5 separate regions of the Homo sapiens genome follow, and regions 1, 3, 4 and 5 are each linked to region 2. Evidence: promoter capture Hi-C in 16 types of primary human blood cells and fetal thymus (Javierre and others, 2016). All regions are on one chromosome and are shown on one strand. Each heading gives the region's core, a stretch centred on a gene start or on the middle of the fragment in contact. The rest is flanking DNA. Distances are from core to core; before and after follow the strand shown. Region 1 overlaps LOC105376652 (a long non-coding RNA gene). Region 2 holds the start of CD82-AS1 (CD82 antisense RNA 1). Region 3 has its middle 3.8 kb from the start of EXT2. Region 4 has its middle 18 kb from the start of LINC02696. Region 5 overlaps LINC02696 (long intergenic non-protein coding RNA 2696).

The links. The method cuts DNA at HindIII sites, captures the fragments that hold promoters and counts their contacts. A CHiCAGO score of 5 or more calls a contact.
Region 1: a fragment that was not itself captured here is called in contact with the fragment with the promoter of CD82-AS1 in region 2 in 1 of 17 cell types (neutrophils); the score reaches 5.9 in neutrophils.
Region 3: a contact is called between a fragment that was not itself captured here and the fragment with the promoter of CD82-AS1 in region 2, in 3 of 17 cell types (endothelial precursors, naive CD8 T cells and total CD8 T cells). The highest score is 6.3, in endothelial precursors.
Region 4: a fragment that was not itself captured here is called in contact with the fragment with the promoter of CD82-AS1 in region 2 in 6 of 17 cell types (total CD8 T cells, naive CD8 T cells, naive CD4 T cells and 3 more); the score reaches 8.2 in total CD8 T cells.
Region 5: a contact is called between a fragment that was not itself captured here and the fragment with the promoter of CD82-AS1 in region 2, in 5 of 17 cell types (total CD8 T cells, naive CD8 T cells, total CD4 T cells and 2 more). The highest score is 6.9, in total CD8 T cells.

Annotation. Positions count from the first base shown.
Region 1 is chr11:45,132,509-45,135,434 of GRCh38, forward strand. The region is part of intron 3 of LOC105376652 (a long non-coding RNA gene); the gene reads right to left. It also overlaps a transcript of PRDM11 not described here. Among named protein-coding and RNA genes, the nearest start is that of PRDM11, 13 kb to the right of the region's middle. The HindIII fragment of the contact is 7,917 bases long and covers 1-2,926 here.
Region 2 is chr11:44,603,954-44,606,653 of GRCh38, forward strand. CD82-AS1 (CD82 antisense RNA 1) reads right to left here and starts at 1,384. Exons shown (of 2, transcript NR_182290.1): 1 at 1,065-1,384; 2 at 555-777. It overlaps CD82 (CD82 molecule), which reads left to right. Exons shown (of 10, transcript NM_002231.4): 5 at 1,105-1,229; 6 at 1,402-1,476. The HindIII fragment of the contact is 7,514 bases long and covers 751-2,700 here.
Region 3 is chr11:44,090,542-44,093,241 of GRCh38, forward strand. No RefSeq gene overlaps it. Among named protein-coding and RNA genes, the nearest start is that of EXT2, 3.8 kb to the right of the region's middle. The HindIII fragment of the contact is 585 bases long and covers 1,095-1,679 here.
Region 4 is chr11:45,336,067-45,338,946 of GRCh38, forward strand. No RefSeq gene overlaps it. Among named protein-coding and RNA genes, the nearest start is that of LINC02696, 18 kb to the right of the region's middle. The HindIII fragment of the contact is 3,103 bases long and covers 1-2,839 here.
Region 5 is chr11:45,355,498-45,358,254 of GRCh38, forward strand. It overlaps LINC02696 (long intergenic non-protein coding RNA 2696), which reads left to right. Exons shown (of 2, transcript NR_120558.1): 1 at 1-105; 2 at 899-1,160. Among named protein-coding and RNA genes, the nearest start is that of LINC02696, 1.5 kb to the left of the region's middle. The HindIII fragment of the contact is 6,359 bases long and covers 1-2,757 here.

The sequences.
Region 1 (2,926 bases), core at 370-2,869, 530 kb after region 2:
TTAAAAATAAAAGGGAGCTTGCAGATCATTAAGCACATCCCCAGCACTTTGCAAATTGAAAAGACATGTTCCTGAAAGGTAGAGTAATGCTTATGAAGCCACAGTCATTTCCTTTCTACTTCTGTTTCCATTCTGTTCCTCCATCCTTTCACAATCTGCCTCTGAGCTACTCAAAGTCTGACTTCAAAGTGATGCTGGATGGAAGGGACCTCTAAGGACATCGAAGTCAACCTCTTACAGGAAACCCAGAATGACAGCAGCTTACTCAAGGTCACCCAGCTACCTAGGGAGAAGACCCAAAGATAGTGATTGGCGCTTTAGAAATCCTCTGATGAGTATACTTCTCCAATTCCTAAAGCCAGCCCAGGGACAGCAAAGATTGAGCAAAACCCAGGAAAATACTGATGGCTCAGCCATCTTGCTGTGGAAAGAGGAGCAACACCCTGCTTAAGAATGTGCCACACATACCCCATCCCCATCCCCATCCCCAAATTAAAGTAAAAGTCCTCTTTCTGGTGTTACCTCTCTGCTGTTAACCTTGCCTTCTCTGCCAGCTGCATTCCCATAAGCTGGAAACACATCCAATTTTCTCCCAACCTTTAAACAATAAAAATATTTAACTCTGCCTTCTCTTTCTAACACTTTTCATCCAAATAGCTCAAAAAGATAATCTGTGCTTTCTTTTTCTAATTCCTTACCTCTCATTTTCTCCTCAACTCATTCCAATCTGCTATACCACTTCCATGGGGTAATACCACTAAAATTGTTCTTGTTAAGGACATAAGTGACTCCTATCATGAAATCTGAGGAAATCCTTAAGTTCTTATCTTACTGGACCTCCCTGTTGCATTTAACCCTATTGTCCACTTTCTCTTTCTGAATGCTCTGCTCTCTTGGTTCCCAAGATGACTTGCTTTCCCCAATTCTCATAACTTTCTGGCCATAACTTTTTCTTCATAGGTGGGAAGATGGATAAAGACATATTTCTGATGATATTGTTTTAACAGCTTGATCCAGCCATGCCTGAAGCCTGACCCAGATTTTTTTAGTTATAGGAGCCAACACGTTATTCTTTTTGCTCAAACCAGTGTTCGCTGAGTTTCGGGCACTGGCCAGTGGAGCTCAGCACAGCAGTGGAATCCTCTCCCTTGGTAACTCCTTCCCTTCTTCTACTGGCATGTGCAGCACTAATGATAGTACTAACTAGACACAGATCCCCAACGGGCACATAGTGGAGGCTAGACATACAGTTAGGGAGGAGTAACTCAAGAATGGCAAATTTGGATCCTCCAAACAGAGCAGCTTGCCTCAACATACACCCCAGCTCACGGGTCTCATTTGATGCAGAGAGCAGGCTAAACCAAATGGATTTTGCCAGCTAAGCACTGCCACAGCCATCAGCACTGTTTGAGATGGGCCCCCAAATGCCAATCTGCTTCCTGGCACAGGAACCCTGAAGGGCAATCTCTCTGCCAGCCTTTGCCCTCTGCAGCTGGGTGAAGCTCACCTAAGACTACCCTACATCTCTATACACCCCCAGAGGGCAAGGCACACATGGGAAATCAATGACTCACCTACACAATTGCTGGGAAAGCTCACATCAGCTACCAATGGTGATTAGGCGAGTCCTTTGTTTAAAAATGGGAAGAGACAGTGAAAATTTTCTGGACATGCAAGGAGAGTGAGTCAGTGGCCTGAACTGAATACTCGGACCAAATAGCTCATGCTGAAATAGGGTTAATGCAGGAGATATAGAAGAAAACTTTAGTCTTACGATCATGTTCCTTGAGACTCATAAGCGTACTCCCCGACAAAATAATCTCAGGCAGTTACAAAAAAAGTTATAGAGACTAGTATAAACTTGAGTTCAAAACTAACAAAGCCCACTCACACAAAAACTTAGAATAGCAGACAGGTGTGGAGGCACAAGCCTGTAATTCCAGCACTTTGGGAGGCTGAGGTGGGCAGATCGCTTGACTCAGGAGATTGAGACCAGCCTGGGCAACACAGCAAAACCCTGTCTCTACAAAAAATACAAAAATTAGCTGGATGTCGTGGCACGTGCCTGTAGTCCCAGCTACTTGGGAGGCTGAGGTGGGAGAATCGCTTGAGCCTGGGAGGTCGAGGCTGCAGTGAGCTGAGATTGCACCACTGCACTCCAGCCTGAGCAACAGAGTGAGACCCTGTCTCACGAAAAAAAAAAAAAAAAAAAAAAAAAGAATAGTATTTCAACATTATAATTAGCCACACATTTTTTTTAATTTTTAAAAAATGTATAATAGCAATTTGATGCAGCAGCATATTAAGGAAGAACTTGACATATTTTATCCTAGAAATTCAAAGATGACTTAATAATTATCAAATCCTATAATGTTTTCCATGTTTGCAAATTATTGCAGAGCAATAATCATTACATCTAGAGGTTAATATGGAAAAATAGGTGCTGATACTGATAGATACAAAAAAAGGCATTGGTAAAAATTCCATTTTAGCTGGGCACAGTGGCACACAGTTGTAGACCCAGCTACTAGGGAGGCTGAGGCAGGAGGGTAGTTTGAGCCCAGCCTGGGCAACATAGTGAGACCCCATCTCTAAAAAGAAGAATCCAATTTTAATTATACTCTCTCTCTCTCTCTCTCTCTCCTACTAAAATAGGAATAAAAGGACATTTCTAGAATGTAATGAGATTATCAGAAGGCTGCAGGAAACATCATGAAAACAGGAGAAAACCTGCCTTAGCAAACAAGAATGCTTGCTGTCTCCATTCCTAATCATTGTTTTGGAGCTTCTAGCTAATGCAATAATATAAGAAAATTAACCAAGATTCATAAATATTTTTTAAAAGGAAGGCACAAAGTAATTATTTGCATGAGATACTCTTGTCTACCAAAAAAGTCCCAAAGAATCAACTCAGAACTAATGAAAA
Region 2 (2,700 bases), core at 134-2,633:
TTTGCACCTGCTGTGTTCCCTGCCTGGAATGCTTTTCTTACAGATCTTTGCTTGGCTGACTTCTTCATTCATGTCTTGGCTCAAATGTCACTGGCTCAGGCTGGCCTTCGTCGACCCATTCTGACCCTCTCCCAGCCCAGCAGTTCTCTGCAGTTAGCCAGCTTTGGTATCTTCATGGCGCCCAACACAACCAGAAAACCTGTATTGTGTACTTTTTGTCTCCACTCCCCACCCCCAAATGTCAGACCTTGTTAGTCACTCTTCTGCATCCCCAGCAACTGGCACAGTGCCTGGCATGAAGTGGGCACCCAGTAAACATTTCTTGGCCGAATGAACATGCAGCACACCTGTAGCAATACATGTGCCCCGTGCATCAGTGGAAAGAGTGTGGCACTGGAGATTTGCATATTTTCAAATTCCAGCTCAGGCCCTTGCCTGTTCGCCTTTCTGAGCCTCATTTTTTTCTTCTGTGAAATGGCCATGCTAGTGCCTGCCAGGCAGGGTGATGTCAGAGTTGGAGACGGCGTGTGGAAAGCCCATGAGGCACAGTGAGTGGGCAAGAAAGGCTGGTGTTTGTTATTATATGGACAAGAAGGAAGGCGGGTTAAAAATCAGCTTGGAATCTTAATGTCAGTGGCCCCTGGAGAACCAGCCAGCCTCTTGTCTGTCAATTCCGCAGATATTCACTGTGCACAGCACCTCACTGCGAGAGGCGCTGTTCGAGCTGGGGGTTCCCCAGGAATAAAGTGAAGCTTCTGCCCTCATGCACCTCAGGTCCTTGGTGGAGGGGGAGAGCAGACAATGAGCAAGAAGAATCAGTGAAATGTAGTCTATTCAATCCTGAGAAGCCTTACGAAGTAAAAAATAAAGCCGGGAAGGGGCTTAGGCTGGATGAGGGTGTGGATTGCAATTTTACTGGGGGAGGGACACAAGTGGGGATGGGGGTGACCTGGTTCCCTGTTGGGCAGTGAGAAGCCAGCAGGGGAATGCAGCTGACCCCAACACCCTGGCTCCAAAGAGGGGATCCGGAAGAAGACCTGGACGGTTAGGCCAGGTGTTTATACCTGCTGTGCCCACTGATTTTGTACTTCTTCTTCCCCCTAGAAACCTCCTCCAGCTCGCTTAGGATGGGGGCCTATGTCTTCATCGGCGTGGGGGCAGTCACTATGCTCATGGGCTTCCTGGGCTGCATCGGCGCCGTCAACGAGGTCCGCTGCCTGCTGGGGCTGGTGAGTACGGATCCCTCCGCAGCTGCCTGCCCATTTCCTCTCATCCAGCCGAGTGCAGCCTGACCGCGGCGCTGGCCGTAACATCGGGTGGAGAGCATCTCTCGGGGCACGCAGGCTGGGTGCACCTGGTCGGGGACCCTCAGCTGACTTTGTGCCTGCTCTGTGTCCCCAGTACTTTGCTTTCCTGCTCCTGATCCTCATTGCCCAGGTGACGGCCGGGGCCCTCTTCTACTTCAACATGGGCAAGGTAAGCCCCTCTCTCCCTCCCTCTTCACTGGGCTGGACCAACCATGGGGGTGATTGACTGAGTGTGGGGGATGGACAAGGAACCCCCCCAGTTGTCACAGACAGATCCAGTAGGTGTCAGGGACGGCCTCCTGGACACTATTCCTTGTGATCAAATGGGGGAGCGTTAGAAGAGAAGGCGGCAGGTGTGGGCAGTCCCCGCTGGGCCTGGATCTTAGCCTGACCCCCCTGCTTTCTAGCTGTGTGGCCTTGGGCAAGCTGCTTGCCTCTATGTGCCTGTTCCACCATCTGTAAAATGGAAACAATAAGAAAACTGAACTCTCAGAGTGGTTGCAAAGATTATTCGAGATTATCTGAGTGAAACACATAGCGCATGGCACCATAAGTACTCAATAAATGTTATTCTTGTTATTATTAAGATACTTTAGCAACTATTAAATCCATGCCACTCACCCACAAATGAGGTTTAGAAGGAGACCGTTAATAAAAACATCAGTCTTGTGTCCGAGGGGAGATGTTCAGCTTTCAGAAACAGAAAATCAGACTTACAGCGGCTTAAAGTTGAAGGACATCTGTGGTTGACTTGACCGGAAGTCTGGTTTGGAAGCTCAGAGGCCCTGGTTCTGGCTGTTGAGCATCCTCGCTGGGATGGCTTTCCTGCATTATGACACTTACCTCGTGGTTCCAAGATGGCTGCCACAGCACCAGGCACGATGTCTGTGCCGCTGTGGCCTGAAGATGGGGAAGTGGGCAGTGCCAGACATGGCCATCCCTTTTATCAGAAAAGGCGCAGTGGCTCATGACTGTAATCCCAATACTTAGGGAGGCAGAGGTGGGAGGATTGCTCTGAGACTAGCCTGGGCAACATGGTGAGACCCCATTTCTACAAACAAATTTTTAAAAATGCTAGCCATGGTGGTGTTCACCTGTGGTCCCAGCTACTCAGGAGGCTGAGGCAGGAGGATCCTTGAGGCCAGGAGGTTGAGGCTACAGGGAGCCATGAAACAGAGCTTGGGGCAACAGAGTGAGACCCTGTCTCAAAAAAAAAAAAAAAAAAAAGTCCTCCAACAGACTTCCCCAGACTGGGTTACAAAGCCACCCCTGGTTGCAAAAGAGGCTGAGAATGTGAGTATCCAACTTTCAGACTCTAAAGACAGAGGCACAAGAGAGAAAGGAGCCAAGAATGGCTGTTGGGTGAGCCAGTTAATTGTGAGTCACAGTTATC
Region 3 (2,700 bases), core at 137-2,636, 510 kb before region 2:
CAAGTGATCCACCTGCCTCAGCTGCCCAAAGTGCTGGGATTACATAGGCATGAGCCACCATGCCCGGCCCTAGTTTTTAAATTTCTAAATTATTTTTCTAGTTTTATACAGTCAGTGTTTGTTTTGATTTACCCACAGGTTTATCAGTTTCATTGTTTCCCAGCCCTACTTCATTGCAGTACTTCCTTTTGGTTTTAATGTTTTCCTTCCTAACATTCTTAAGAAGTTCCTTTAGGAAGGATCTACTGATGGTAATCTCTTTCTATTTGTATTTGTCTAAGATATCTTTACTTCCCTGTTATTCTTCAAAGATGGTGTTATTGGGCATACAATTATACATCATTAACTATTGCCCTCTCAGCCTTTTTACTATGATTTTTTGGCTTTAGGTTTTTGTTGTTGAGAAGTCTGCTATTAGTCTCATTGTTAGTTCATTGCAGGTGATCATCTCTGCTCAATTTTGGAAAATTCTTAGCTATCATCTCCTTGGATATTACCTTCACCTCCTTTTCTCTATTCCCTCCTTTTAGATATGTGCCATTTTCTTCATCTCTCCTCTCCCTCTCTTAACTTCTCTTTCCTATATTTAATTCGTTTCCTGTCTTTCAGATCGATCGTTGTTGTTTCTAACCTACTATTTAACTTATGCATTGACTTTTCAATTTCAATGTTTATATTTAGTACATTTTCAGTCTCCTTGGTCTTTTAAAAATATAACATCTTATTTCTTTGTAATGTTTTACATTTCATTTTAAGTCTTTGAGTGGTATAAACATACTTGTTTTATATTTATGTATCATAATTCAATTATATGTAGTTCTTGGGGGTTAAATTTCTGCTGTTTGTGATTTCTGGTGGTTTGTTTTCTCATATGCTTTATAGTTCTGCATTGTGAGTTTACATTTGTCAGGGTTTTATTTGTCAGAATCCTAGGTAGCTTGTGTTGAGGATGTGGGTCTCCAGAGGGGATTTATGTTTCCTTCTGTTGGATGTCTTTGGGTGCTACCAACCTGGGAATACTGTATGTTACTATCCTGGCTTGGAGCTTCCTAGACCATGCTGGTGGTATAAATTCAAACCCCAGATGGTCATAAAGCTTGATTGCTATGAACTGAATGTTCATCCCCTCCCACACCTCCTTCATATGTTGAAGTCCTAATCCCCAGTGTGATGATTATTGGAGGTGGGGCCTTTGGGATGTAATTAGGTCTTGAGGGTGGAATCCTCATGAGTAGGATTAGTGCCCTGACAAGAAGAGACACAGAAAGGTCTTTTTCTCCACCATATGAGAATATAGCAAGAAGGTAACCCTCTGCAAACCAGAAAAAGAGCCCTCATCAGGAACCAAATTGGCCAGCACCTTGATCTTGGACTTCCTAGCCTCTAGAGCTGGGAGAAATAAATTCCTGTTGTTTAAGCCACCCAGTCTGTGGTATTTTTGTTATAGCAGCCCGAACTGACTAAGATATGCGTGTTAAAGATCATCAGTGAGACTCTCTTCTTTTTCCATTCCCTGGACAAGACAGGTAAGTTTCTTTGGTGGATGTTGAGCAAATTTTTTCCAGTATTCCCTGTTGGGTGTAATTCTTTAAGATCCTAGCTTTATGGGTTTCTTTGTATCAGCTTCCTGCCTTGTATGCCCAAGATAGTTGTAGCTTCAATGTCATTTCTATTATTTAAGCTTCATTTTTGACTTTGGATGTTTTCCTTCCTTTTTTTTGTGCGTAAGCTCAGCTATTCACTTGAGAAGGTATTCCTTATATTTCACCTGGTTAGGTGTTTTTTAGCCTACCATGCTGCCTGCCAGTGCTGTTTTAAGCTGAGCCAACCTAAGGTCCCACAGATCAATTATATTATGGAGCCCTTTTCTTTAGAGAATATGCCTTTTTCCATTCTTGGATATCTCTGTTACAGTAGACTCTTGAATAATGTGGGGGTTGGGGTGCCAATCCCCTAAGCAGTTGAAAAATGATGTATAACTTTTGACTCCCCCAAAACTTAACTACTAATAGCCTTCTGTTGACTGGACACCTTACTGATAATGTAAATAGTCTATTAAACATATTTTATATGTTATATATATTAAATACTGTATTCTTACAATAAAGTAAGCAAGAGAAAAGAAAATGTTATTAAGAAAGTCAGGAGGAAGAAAAATATATTTACTATTCATTAAGTGGAAGTCATAACGATCTTCATCCTCCTCATCTTCATGTTGTGTAGGCCAAGGAGGAGAAGGAAGGGGGGTTGGTCTCACTGTCTCAGGAGTGGCAGAGGCAGAATAGGTAGCAGAGGTGGAAAGAGAAGCTGGAGAGGCAGGCACACTTGGTGTAACTTTTGTTGAAAAAAAATCTGCACAGCAGTGGATCTGCAAAGTTTAAACCTGTGTTGTTCAAGAATCAACTGTATTTAGAGGAAGTGCTAAATATGGGATTCAACCCTACACCAGCTCTTTCTCCTAATTGGAAACTCACTTTCCCCTGATGACACTATTTTCCACGAAAGCCATTCCCTTTCTAATCCTGACTTTCATATTTCCTGACTCACTGGGTAAGGGGGTATCTGTGTAATCTTTGCTTTGCCCTGTAACTTCAAATTCAGTAAAGCAGTATCTTTCTACAACCTCTCCTCCTTCAACCACCAGCTACTAAGACGCTTTTCTGCCTTCTCAGAAACTTCAGGTCCTGGCTTATAATTTAT
Region 4 (2,880 bases), core at 38-2,537, 730 kb after region 2:
CATCAATTTCTTTCAAAAGGAAGTGAACGCGCACATTACTCTCCCCTGGGAGTGCAAAACTCAATCCTGCCAACTCAAGGTAAACTGTCACTGTCAGGTGCTCTCAAGCTCTGTCAATTAAGGCTCCTTCCCCTCTGTCCTCTCCAGGCATTGGTGGTGTGAGGGGCACTCCCCTTCCCCTCATCTAGTTCCCTCCTACGGAGCATCCGAGGTTGATGTAATTTGCCAGGCCTGTGTATTGATGTCTGATATCATCTGCATTCACTGCTGTCACAGCCACTGCCACTCTGTCTTCCCTCATCAGGTACCTAAGCGTCTGCACCCCCTGCGTCCCATTGCTAGGCCTCTCCAGGTTCACCCACCAGCTTTCTGCCATTTCTATCCCTCCTTGAGGATTTGGGGATGTGAGTGTTTGAGGCCCTCTCATTAACAGGTCCATCACAGGAGTCCTCACCTGGCACAGTGTGGTGGCACAGTGTCCACCACAGCTTTTCCTGGGCAGAGAGGCGCAGGTCTCCTCTGCTTCACTGTCTCCCACCCACCCGCATCCCAGGCTTTCTCACAGGTCCCTGGCATCTGTGGGTTCTAGTTCCAACCCTTCGATCCTCCTTCCACCTCCCAAAACTGAACTTTTGTCTCCTTTTGAGTAGGAACTTTATTCATTTACTATTGAATATTCTTTCCTACTCTATGGTGTGGTATAAAATCTATGCTGTCAGTCCCCCAGACTACCTTTTTTACCTTAAAAAACATGTTTTCTTCTCAAGAACAAAGTCCTGGCTTTTTCTAAATGTATTCAAGAATTTCTTCACCAAATATTGTTGGAACACTTGCTGGGGGGGGGCAGACACTCTCTGGGTTGTACGGACAGACAGACAGTTGCCTTCCAGTTGGGGAGATGGGCGATAATCATATGCAAAAGTCAATTGCCTAATTTCTTTTTTTTTTTTTTTTTTTTGAGACAGAGTCTCGCTCTGCCGCCCAGGCTGTAGTGCAGTGGCGCTATCTCGGCTCACTACAAGCTCCGCCTCCCGGGTTCATGCCATTCTCCTGCCTCAGCCTCCTGAGTAGCTGGGACTACAGGTGCCCGCCAACACGCCTGGCTAATTTTTTGTATTTTTTTTAGTAGAGACAGGGTTTCACCGTGTTAGCCAGGATGGTCTTGATCTCCTGACCTCGTGATCTGCCCGCCTTGGCCTCCCAAAGTGCTGGGATTACAGACGGCCGTCAATTGCCTAATTCTTTTCTTTCTTTTCTTTTTTTTTTTTTTTTTTTTTTTGAGACAGGGTCTCACTCCTTCACCCAGGCTGGAGTACAGGGAATGGCATCATCATATAGTTCACTCATAGCCTTGAACTCCTGGGCTCAAGCCATCCTCCTCCCTCAGCCTCCCAATCAGCTAGGACTACCTGTAGGTACGTGCCACCACACTTGGATAACTTTTATTTTATTTTATTTTATCTTATTTTATTTTATATTGTGTAGAGATGGGGTCTTGTTCTGTTGCCCAGGCTGGTCTCAAACTCCTAGCCTCAAGTGATTCTTTAGCCTTGGCCTCCCAAAGTGCTGGTATTACAGGTGTGAGCTGTGGTGCCCAGCCACCTATTTATTTTCAATAGAGCGAATGCTTTGCTGGAGTATTAAGTATAAACTATACTTTATATTCAATATTCCAGCAAAGTATTTTATATTGAGTATAAAATGCTGAGTATCAATTTTATATTGAGTATAAAAAGGGGTAAAGTGACAGAGCGCTGGGCAGTGGGAAGGGGTAGTTATGAAACAGACTCACTGTGCGCTAGTTACCACTTCAACCCACTTGATCTTGGGTTGCACGTTCACTACTTGCCCAAGTTCTGTGAAACAGAACACTGAAATACACAAGTTACATGAGGAAATACACAAGTTATTACTTATAGATAGTCAGCAAGGGACAGCAGCAGCCTAGAATTCATGAGTATCAGTCTCCAAGCCTCAGGAAAGCTGCCCAGATGGAGTCTTGTCTGCACATGCCCCACTTGCACCACAGCTGCGGAGCCCTGAAGGCAACCAGCCCTGGGTTTTAGACCACGGGGTACAGGACTTGCTGGGTCAACGCATTGAAGGACACCTTGTTTCTAATAGTGACTGAAGCAGAGCCTGGCCTGCTCAGACCAGTCCCGCCCTATTCCAGATGTTGCATTTCCAGCACATTACACAGCGATTCTTGGGAGCTATGACAGAAAAGAGGGAGAACTGGGTCGGTCCACAGCCATCCAGAGAATGGTCTTGCAGTAGTGCTGCATTGAGTCAGATATCCAGGAAGGCCTGGTAGACATTTGAACCCCAATCTAAGTGCCAAGAAGAATCCCCCGGAGAGGGATCAGGTCAATGCCTCCAAATGGAACAGCAAGAGCAAGAGCCCCGAGAAAGAAATGAGCTTGGCCTTGGTCACAGATAAGAAAGAAGGCCAGCGGGTTTATTGAATGGTGAAAAGAGAGTGAGCAAAGATGACCTCAATGGGTCACTGGGCCAGATTTCGCAGCACCCTTTTAGCATGCATGGAAGCTGTGGATTGTTTTGTTAAACCCTAGAAGATTGAAGTAGAGAAGTTATTTGCATTTTAAGAAAATCATTTTAATTATAGAAAAATGGTTGATTATAAGAGGGCAAAAAAGCATGGGCGAGCAGGGAAAAGGTAACTCTAGGAGGCCACACGGGTGATGAGGGTAGCCCGAACTTAGAGGGTAAAGATGGTGAGATGTGGACCATTCTGGATACATTGTAGGGGAAGGATTGAAGGGACTGCTGCTGGGCTGATTAGGCGGTGGTGAGATGCAGAGGCAGGAGAGGCTGAGGAAGCTTAAACCCCTGCATACTGTCTGGAATGACTGAGCCAGT
Region 5 (2,757 bases), core at 106-2,605, 750 kb after region 2:
AGCCAAGAATATGAGGAAGTCTTCTTCCTTCGCGCCTTCTTCTTCCTTACGCTCCAGGGCAGCCTGACAGAGCCGCTCGAAGGCTCTGCTGGCCGCGGCTAGCCGGTGAGGAGGGTGGGGGGAGGGGCCGTCCCGCGTGTGGGGGAGTCTGAAGGCGACCAACGAGAGGGAGGGCCGGAGCGGGGAGGTGGCTCGGAGGCATGTCCAGTAAATTGGGGATGAAAATCCTCCCAGGAACCCGATTATTAATGGGTTGAGGGAAGTGGCAGGTGCAGCGGTTGCGCAAAGACAATGATGCTTAGTAGCCAGGACTTCATGGCCACAAAATTTGTGTGTAGAGAGGGCCACAGCAGCCTGAAAACCATTTTCGTCCCCTTTTAGGTTTACCCATTCCACTGGACCCAGCCACCACCCACTCCTGCTGTCTGGTAAACTTTCCTCCTGTTTCTGGGGCCATGTCTGGCATGAAGAGTTTTTACTGAATAGTTTTCATTGATCGCAGGCCAGTTCTCTCTTCTCACCCCTTTATTGAAGTGACAGTGAAAATCTAAGTGAGAAAGCACTGTTACAGGGGCTGAAAAGGCTACAGGAGACCAGAGCCATTGACTTTTATTTTTAAAATGAAGATCTCTTTTACTTGAAGGAACTTAAGAATTTTGGCATTCAAATAGGGGCTGGAAGACTTGAAAGCAGTAGAAATTTCACCACAGGTGATAGGAAAGGATGATCACGAAATGAATATCTCCTGACTTGCACACCTAGTGAGCAGAGCCAGGAAGGACCTCCTTCACCTTAGCATTTGGAACAGGCTGCAAAGTTCATTCTTCCTCATAGCAGCCCCTGCATTCAGTTTGGTTTAGTTGTTTTATGTGGTTTCTAGCCTGATTTTTTTTTTCAGGGTGCAGCAGAAGTCTCAGGTAGCTGAGAAGTTCATGGAATCTTCTTATTTGCTACACCTTTCACTACTGCTTGTGATATAGTGCAGGGTTGGGATGTGCAGACATTTCTCAAGTGCACTGTGTACCTACACAGCATGCTGCAATTTGGCTACTGAAGTCAAGAGAAACTGGTTTGAACAACTACTGAGTGTAACATAGGAAGCGCATTTCATTTGATAACAGGAACACAGCTTTTGTGCTAATAAAATGCTTTGAAAATTAGTGTGTGGTCTTTAGTAATTAGCATATACATTTTAGTTATCCATTGGTTCATAACAAACGGACTAAATAGGTACCCCACTGAGTCATTTATCTAAATGAAAAGTTTGGTTAAATTGTAGTTGTAGGCATTGATCAAAGCTAATGGGAAAAAGAGATTAAGATGAAAATCATGGGATTAAATTTTTAATTAGTTTGCCCCTTGGACCGTTGCTTGGTATGACATGGAGATTGATTGGCTACTTATGCCTGCCTGGGAAGATATGGCTCTGCTACCAAACCTCTGAACGTAAGAGTGTTTTGCAAAAAAACTGAATATTTTATTCAGTAATTTTTCACTTTATTCCTGCTTAACAAGGAATTGAAAAGGAAGGCAAGGTCTTGGATCTCATAGTTCTTGGTATAGTGATAGATATAAAGTATGAGATGGGGGCTTCAGTGGGTTCATTAATAAATATCTCAAATTAACATGTCTAAGTCAAACTCTTCCTTTCCTGCCCCCAATCTCTTCCTCTCCCAGGGCTCCTTATGTCAACTAATGGTGCCATCATTAGTGCACTCAAAGCAAAAACCTGGGAACAATCTTGATTCCCTCTTTCATTCCCCACAGCTCACCCATCAACAAATTCGATCCGCTTTTATTCTAAAATATATCCTAAATCCATTCACTGTTCTTATCTCCACCACCCTAACCCAGGCATCATCATCCTTTACCTGGTTAACTGCAAGATCCTTTTCATTTAACTTCCCTGCTTCTAATCTTCTGACCCATTTTCACCATCCCAGTCCATTCACCACACAGTAGCAGCCAAAATATTTGTTTAAAATGTAAGTTAGATTCTATCACTTTTGTGTTTAGAATTATTGTCTTCCCCCACTAATTACTGTGCCCTATGTGATCTGGACTCAATCTGGTACCACTCCCTACCCCTTCACTCACTATAATCCAGACATACTATCTTTCTTTCTTCAACCTGCCAAGTTTTATCCTGCCTTAGGGTCCTTGCACTAGCTGTTCCCTTTGCTGGAACCCTCTTCACCCAGTTATTGCAGAGCTGGCCCTCTCTTGTTTAGAGCTGAATTTCAATGTGACCTCTTCAAATAAGTCCTCCCTTGACCACCCAAACTCATGTACCCCCTTGTTACTCTCTGTCACGTCATCCTGATTCAGTTTCACCACAACACTCATCATTACTGCTATTTTCTTGTATCTTCCTTTGTTTATTGACTGTCTCCTCCCATTAATATGTAAGCTCCCTGAAAATAAACATCTTGTCTATATTGTATGACTGTATCCCCAGAACTTCAAATAGTCTGTGACATATGAATGAATGAATGAATGAATGTACGAATGGATTCTGCTTCCCCAAAGCTGCTGCCATCTCATCTCAGGTACATTGAAACAGGAAGGCTGGTAAAGGCCAGGGGGTCAAATGCTACATAGAGTGGAGCCTGAAGCACAAGATGTGGGCAAAGACACAGTGGAGAGGGGCAAGAAAAGCATTTGGGATGGAGGGCAGAGGGTCTGGGAAGGAACATGGAAATGATATAGAACAACTCTACAGATATGTCCTAGACATCTTAAGACTTGTACAAGCAT